2 separate regions of the Homo sapiens genome follow, and region 2 is linked to region 1. The links are contacts of gene promoters, found by promoter capture Hi-C in human tissues and cell types (Jung and others, 2019). All regions are on one chromosome and are shown on one strand. Each heading gives the region's core, a stretch centred on a gene start or on the middle of the fragment in contact. The rest is flanking DNA. Distances are from core to core; before and after follow the strand shown.

Evidence for each region. The method cuts DNA at HindIII sites, captures the fragments that hold promoters and counts their contacts. A contact is called where the count stands out against the background at its distance.
Region 2: a contact is called between a fragment that was not itself captured here and the fragment with the promoter of RAB38 in region 1, in 2 of the 25 tissues and cell types used here (lymphoblastoid cells and mesenchymal stem cells).

What each region holds. Positions count from the first base shown.
Region 1 is chr11:88,174,026-88,177,387 of GRCh38, reverse strand. RAB38 (RAB38, member RAS oncogene family) reads left to right here and starts at 1,945. Exons shown (of 3, transcript NM_022337.3): 1 at 1,945-2,205. The coding sequence starts at 2,004. It overlaps MIR3166 (microRNA 3166), which reads right to left and starts at 886; the gene lies at 795-886. The HindIII fragment of the contact is 10,731 bases long and covers 1-3,362 here.
Region 2 is chr11:88,437,189-88,440,854 of GRCh38, reverse strand. No RefSeq gene overlaps it. Among named protein-coding and RNA genes, the nearest start is that of GRM5-AS1, 66 kb to the left of the region's middle. The HindIII fragment of the contact is 9,638 bases long and covers 1-3,666 here.

The DNA.
Region 1 (3,362 bases), core at 696-3,195:
CTCAGCCTCTCAAGTAGCTGGGATTATAGTCACCTGCCACCACGCCCGGCTAATTTTTGTATTTTTAGTAGAGACGGGTTTCACCATGTTGGCCAGGCTGGTCTTGAACTCCTGACCTCAAGTGATTCACCCACCTCAGCCTCCCAAAGTGCTTGGATTACAATCATGAGCAACCATGCCCTGCCATAGGTATTATCATTCTCCTTTCGTTGATGTGGAAACCAAGGCTCAGAGGTTATGTGACTTGTCCCGGGTACACATCTTCAGCATCCCTCTGCTTGTTTGGGGCATGTGGAGGCTAAAGTTTAGGGAGTGTCAGGCCAGAAGAGGAAGGCAGAAAGACAATGGCCTTGCCAAACCTCCTTTCTCCCTTTCACACAGGCCTGTGTTTAAGTCCTAGTTCTAACACATACTAGTTATGTGTGCCCTTGAGAAAGCTGCTGTTAATCTTGGTTTCCTTATTTATAAATTGAAGAAAATAACCCACTTCATAAAGCAATTGAGAAGATGAAATGATAGAATGTGAGCAGAGCTCCTTCACAGCACATTCAGGTACAAAATAGCTCATTTTGGTATAAACTGCTCACCCCCTAGCCCTGAATGCCCAATTTCTCATTTTCTTTATGTCTTTACTAAATTGTCTCCATCTTACTGAAACCTTCCCTGGCCACCCTATCTAAAAGGCAAACCCCATATAATCTCTTCACATCCCCTTTCTGCCTTATTTTATTACCAATTAATATATGACAAATTGTATTTATTTTGTCTTGTCCTGTCTCCACCCACAAGAAGGTAAATTTTTCTTAGGCCAGTAGGCATTGTCTGCGTTAGGAGGATGATACAGAAATCCTAACGCAGACAATGCCTACTGGCCTCAAAAAAATTTACCTTCTTGTAGGTGGAGACAGACAAGACAAAATAAGTACAATTTGTCATATATTAATTGGTAATAAAATGTATATTGGTCAAATGAATGAAAACAAACAACAAAAACAACAAAAAGAAGTTGGGAACCTAAAGACCTATGTTTGAATTTGGTTTTTTTCCTTACTATTTGACTCTGGGTCCATTACTTAAAATGTCTGGTCCTTAGCTTCCTCATTTGTAAAATAGGAAGAAAAATGGTATCTATTATTAAGACAGCTGGGATGACTAAATGACATAATTTATAAACCCTCTGGCATATAGCGAGTGCTCAATAAATGTTTGCCATTATTATTATTTGTAATAATCTGACCGATTGTTAAAACTGTCTTTCTGTGCAGCTCTGAGTTTTTAGGATATGGGAAGAGGCTAAAAGTCACCAGTGCCCTTGGCATTTTCGGCCCAGTTGTCCTCCTTGTTAACTGATTACCAGTTGAATGGGTGTGAAAGTGCTCAGTGTTCCCACCTCCAAGCTGCTCAGAGGTCAGCATTGCCATTCATTGAGAAATAACAGGCTGTGAGAGCTCAAATGACTTACTTATGGTCCCTCAACTTAAAAACCAGGGCACGCAGGAACCAAGCCCAGCCAGTCTTGGGCTTCCTAATACTGTAATTTCTCTCTACAGTGTGGGGTAGTTAAGAGCCTGTGACTTCAGACCTGTGGTCAACGGGGCCTTTCACCGGCCATCTCCCGCAGAGTACTTTTTCACAATCAGTTTTCTCGCAAGCAAAACGTGGAAAATAAGATCCACACCTCACAAGTTTGTGGCCAGGGTCACAGGTGAAAACAGCTCTTCGGAAACTCTAAAGCGCCGGATAAATAAGCGCTGCAACAGGCAACCACACGCGAACCCCTTTCAGCTGCCAGTCCCGGGACTCGCTCCTGTCTCCTCCCCTCTCCAAGACCGCGGAGTAGGAAGGAGGATTAACCCCTAGGGGAGGAGTTCCGCCCCCCAGCCCCCGCCCCGCCGCCCACGCCTCTCTCTGCACCTACACTTGCGCTCCCCAAGTCTCTCTCGTGCGCAGAGCCCAGGCTGCGCTTCCCTGGTCAGGCACGGCACGTCTGGCCGGCCGCCAGGATGCAGGCCCCGCACAAGGAGCACCTGTACAAGTTGCTGGTGATTGGCGACCTGGGCGTGGGGAAGACCAGTATCATCAAGCGCTACGTGCACCAGAACTTCTCTTCGCACTACCGGGCCACAATCGGCGTGGACTTCGCGCTCAAGGTGCTCCACTGGGACCCGGAGACTGTGGTGCGCCTGCAGCTCTGGGATATCGCAGGTGAGCGCGGGGGGAGGGGGTCAGGGGGATAGAGCGCCTCGCGGCCGGTTTCCAGTCTCGAGGCAGCGGCTTGCGGCCAAGCGTGAGATTAAAATCACTAGGTCGCGAGGCAGTTTTTCCTGGTGGGCTGGAAACTTAGTTTCAAAGAAAAGAAAAACGTCTGAAACTTCAAGTGCATTCCCTGGCGCTTTTGGGCTATTGCTTTAGCTCCTTCCCGCACAGTCCCCTGGGATCTCTCTGCCCAGAGCAGGCCTCCCCAGGGAACCAGAGGAAGATTGTCTGCAATTGCATTCTGTTCTCCACTCCAGCTCGTTTTCTGGGCGCGGGCAGTTCTGCCAATGACGCAGCCCAGTGTCACGCACGTCCTTCCGTGCAGGGGCGGACCGAGGGGAAGCCCCTAGGCTGGTTCACAGAGGAAACCGGGATAGTTCCAGGCTAGCTGGAGTTTGCCCATTCCTGTCTTCAGTGGCTCACTTTATTTCAAATTTTGTCACCTTTCTCTCTGCCCTTAAGACAAAGGAGTTTGAGGGTTTTTGTTTTGTTTTTTTTTTTTTTTTTTTTTGCTTTTTGCTTACAGTAAGCCAAGTACTTTTGTGTGTATATGTCAGGGGCAAAGTATTCTTTCTCCCTCTCTTTCTGTATTTCTATCTCTCTGGCTCTCTGTCTTCTATGAAAAGGAGGTTGTGTGTATATTTTAAGGCCATTTTTATGTAAGGGCCTATGATAGCCTTATGATTTCTTGATTTGGCCCTAAAGTTTTCATTGAGAGATCTGAAAAATGAGAGGTTGTTTGTTTTTGTTTTTTACAATATTTAAAATCAGATTTTGACTCCACAGGTTTGTACCAGAAGTTAGGCCTAGTCAAAAGTGAGGGTGCAATGTATCTACTCCAAGTGTGAATCCTTGGACAAGGCTGTTTGCAACCTGCGCATGACCAACCCCTCATTACAGATTTTAGCCCTGCCACTAACTAACCTGCTCAGTGGCTTTGGACAAGTCTCTTCAGCTCAGTTGCATCGCTGTTAAGTGGAAAGGAGTTGGGCAAGGGTCAAGGATCTTCCTGCTCAGAAGTTTTAAAGTCCTCTGGGATTCTCCATGGGAACAACTTCAAACAGTCTTATTTCATGGTCTGTGACACCAGGAACCTTTCGTTATAA
Region 2 (3,666 bases), core at 531-3,030, 260 kb before region 1:
AGAAATTCTACCCAGCATAATATGTTAAGAGAAATGAATAAATAGCATATAAATTGAAAAAGAACAAGTAGTACTATCCTTATTCACAGAAGACATGATTGTCTACATAGCAAATCCCAAGCAATCTACCAAAAAAATATTAAAAATAATGAGCGAGTTCACCAAGGTTGCAGGATACAAAATCAACACACAAAAGTTAATTGCATTTCTACATACTAGCAAAATTAAAAACAAAATGGCATTTACAAATGTTCCAAAGAAAACAAAGTACTTGGGTATAAATATAAAAACCTTGTACAATATCTATATGATAAAAATTATAAAATACTAATAAAATAAATAAAAGATGACCTAAACTAATGAAGAGACATACTACATTTATGCATCGAAAGACCGAAAACAGTAAAGATATGAATTCTCCCCAAATTGATCTATAGGTTTAACAAACTTTCTATTAAAATCCCACTAAGAACTTTTGTGAATATAGACAAAATTATTATAAAACATATACAGAAGTTAAAGGACCTAGAATAGCTAAAACAATTTTGAAAAAGAAGAATAAAGTGATAGCAATCCCCCTACCTAATGTTAAAACTTATTACACAACTACAGCCATGAAGACAATGTAGTTTTGGCAGAGGGATAGGCACGTAATTCAATAGAACACAACAAAGAGCTCAGAAAGAGCCCCACACAAATATCATCAACTGATTTTTGACAAAGGTCCAAGAGCTAATTTGATGGAGCAATTATAGTCTTCAAAATAATCGTGCCAGATTAATTAGACATACAGATTGGGGGGAAAAATACACGTCAATTTAAATAAGAAAGAAAAGAAGAAAACATATGCAAAAATCTTCAGGACCTAAAACGATATAAAGAGTTCCTATTCTTAACACAAAACCATGCTCCATAAAATGTAAAACTGATCTCTTTTTTTTTTTAAGTAAAAACTTTTTCTCCGCAGAAGACCCTGTGAAGGAGATAAAAAGACAGTAAGATCCAGGCTGAGAGAAGACACTTAGAAACCATATATCCAACAAAGGAATAGTATCTAGAATACGTAAAGAACTCTCAAAACACAACAGTAAAAAATTACAGAATTCAACTAGAAAATGAGCAATAGACATGAATAGATGGTAATAAGCATATAAAAAGATGTTCAGTATCTTTAGCCATTAAAAGAAGACAAATTAAAACTGCAGTGAGAAACCACCAGACATCTATCAGAATGACTAAAATGAAAACTTGTGATAACAAGAAATCCTGATGATGCAGAAAAACTGGATCATTCGTACAATGCTGGTGGGAATATAAACTGGTACGACCAGTCTGGAAGAATAAGGCAGTTTCTTATAAAACTAGGTGAAAGGTACATGAGATTTCTTCGACATTTTTTTTTTCAATCTCCTATACATTACTACAAAGCAAAAAAATTTAAAATACATATTTACTGTTATCTTCTGTGTGATCATATTTAAACATTCTTAATTGACTTCCTATTATAGAAAATGAGGATTTTAACTTTTTTTTATTCTCCCTTTCCCTTCATCCCTCTCTTCCCCCATTATAGTTATTATGACAAGTATTGGTTAAATCTGTGTTTAGTATTTGTATAATTATGGTATTATAAATATTATTCACTGATGAAACAGGTAGCCTATTATCACTACATTTATTTTCTTGAATAAATTCCTACTTACACTGGTGTTAAAACCTCCTCTTTGTCCCATTCGTTTAGAGTAAATATATAGCTACGCCTTGGCCCTACTTTTTTGACAACTATACACAATTTTATACACAGAACACCTGCCAATTCCATTTCCCCCTCAGAGACTTTGCTGAGATTTCCTGTCCTGTACTTTGCTCTGGATGCTGGTCTACATAAGTTGTGCTGCATGGTGGAAGACCTGGAAGTTCTGTCATCATTCTGGGAATTCTCCTCACTTGGTTCCTGTGTTTGGTTCCCTGCTTCCTCAATTTGATGTTGTCCTGTCTTGGTTTACTCCCTTTTTTTTTTTTTTTTTTTGGTGGTGCACATATCTAGCAGCTTCCTGAGAAGACCTACATGCAGACAAATATTTTATATGGCTGAAACTATTTTAAATTTACCTTATACCTGATTGATTAGTGAGCTGGGCTATGATTCTACACTGAAAAAAAAATTTCGTCTCAAAATTTAGATTAGTACATAATAAAAAATTAATGCATTTATCTACAATTTTTTATTCTTAACATAAAGAATCTTAAATTTTATACATCTTAATCTTTATATATACTGTTTTTTACTACCTAGATCAATTTAAAATGAACCTTTATCATTGTAAATTTATGATTATTTCTTTGGGTGAATTCTCAGTGGGCCTTTTCCACCAGGAAACTCCTAAGAATTTTTCTTTTATCATTTCTTTGACAATTTCCTTCCTTCCATTTCCTGCTCCTTTTGTTCCCAAAATCCTTTGGCTAAACAACACCTTCTAAAGTAATGCCCTAAATTTTATTTTATTTTATTTGTTTGTTTGTTTTGAGACATTGTCTCGCTCTGTCACCCAAGCTGGAGTGCAGGGGTGCTATCTCAGCTCAATGCAAGCTCCGCCTCCCCGGTTCACGCCATTCTCCTGCCTCAGCCTCCCAAGTAGCTGGGACTACAGGCACCTGCCACCATGCCTGGCTAATTTTTTGTATTTTTTAGTAGAGGCCAGGTTTCACCGTGTCAGCCAGGATGGTCTTGATCTCCTCACCTCATGATCTGCCCTCCTCGGCCTCCCAAAGTGCTGGGATTACAGGCGTGAGCCAACGCACCTGGCCTATTTCTTCCATTTTTATCTCTGCCTTTTTTGCTGTACTTTGTGGATGATTTCATTGACTTTATATTCTAAACATTTTACATTTTTAAAAATTTTGAATACCATATTTTATTTTCTGATAATTTTCTTGCTTTCTGATTGTTTTTTAAAGCACTTGGATTACATCTCACCAATACAATATCTTCCCTTATCTCTGTGGCTATTAATTATAATTTCTTTCATATTTTCTTCTACTTATTGGGTTGTCCGTAATTTTTCTAAGTTCCTCTTTCGTTTCTGTTTGCTTTATTTCTGTCTTTCATTTTAGGTATGTCCCACAATATTCAGTGATTGTTTCTTATTCATATTTAAAAGTGAGACCCTAAAGAGCTTATTGAAAGTTCTGTGCATATATTCAGGGCTTCTTAATTGGTATATATCACTCTAAACTGACCAGGAAGTATTTTAGACTTTTTTTACACTTCTCCAAATTTCAGTATATGTAGGCCCCTTCTCTGAATCAGTTGTGTTTCTTTCACTTTTCCTCCAGAGGAGAATCCTTTAAACTTCTATCAGGGGATATAAGCCCAGCTACTGACATTTTGAAGCTAGTTGAACAAATGGATCTGAGATGGGAAATCTTACCTTCAATATAGACTTTAATCTAATCCCCCTGACATGCTTTGGATGTTTGTCCCCTCCAAATCTCACATTGAAATATTACCTTCAATGTTGGGGGTGAGACCTAGTGGTAAATATTGTATAATGGGGGTGGATCCCTCATGAACAGCTTAGCACCATCCCCTTGGTGATGAGTTCTTGCCCAGCTCACACTCAACCTGTTTAATAGAGTGTGGCACATCCTCCCTCTCTTTCTTGC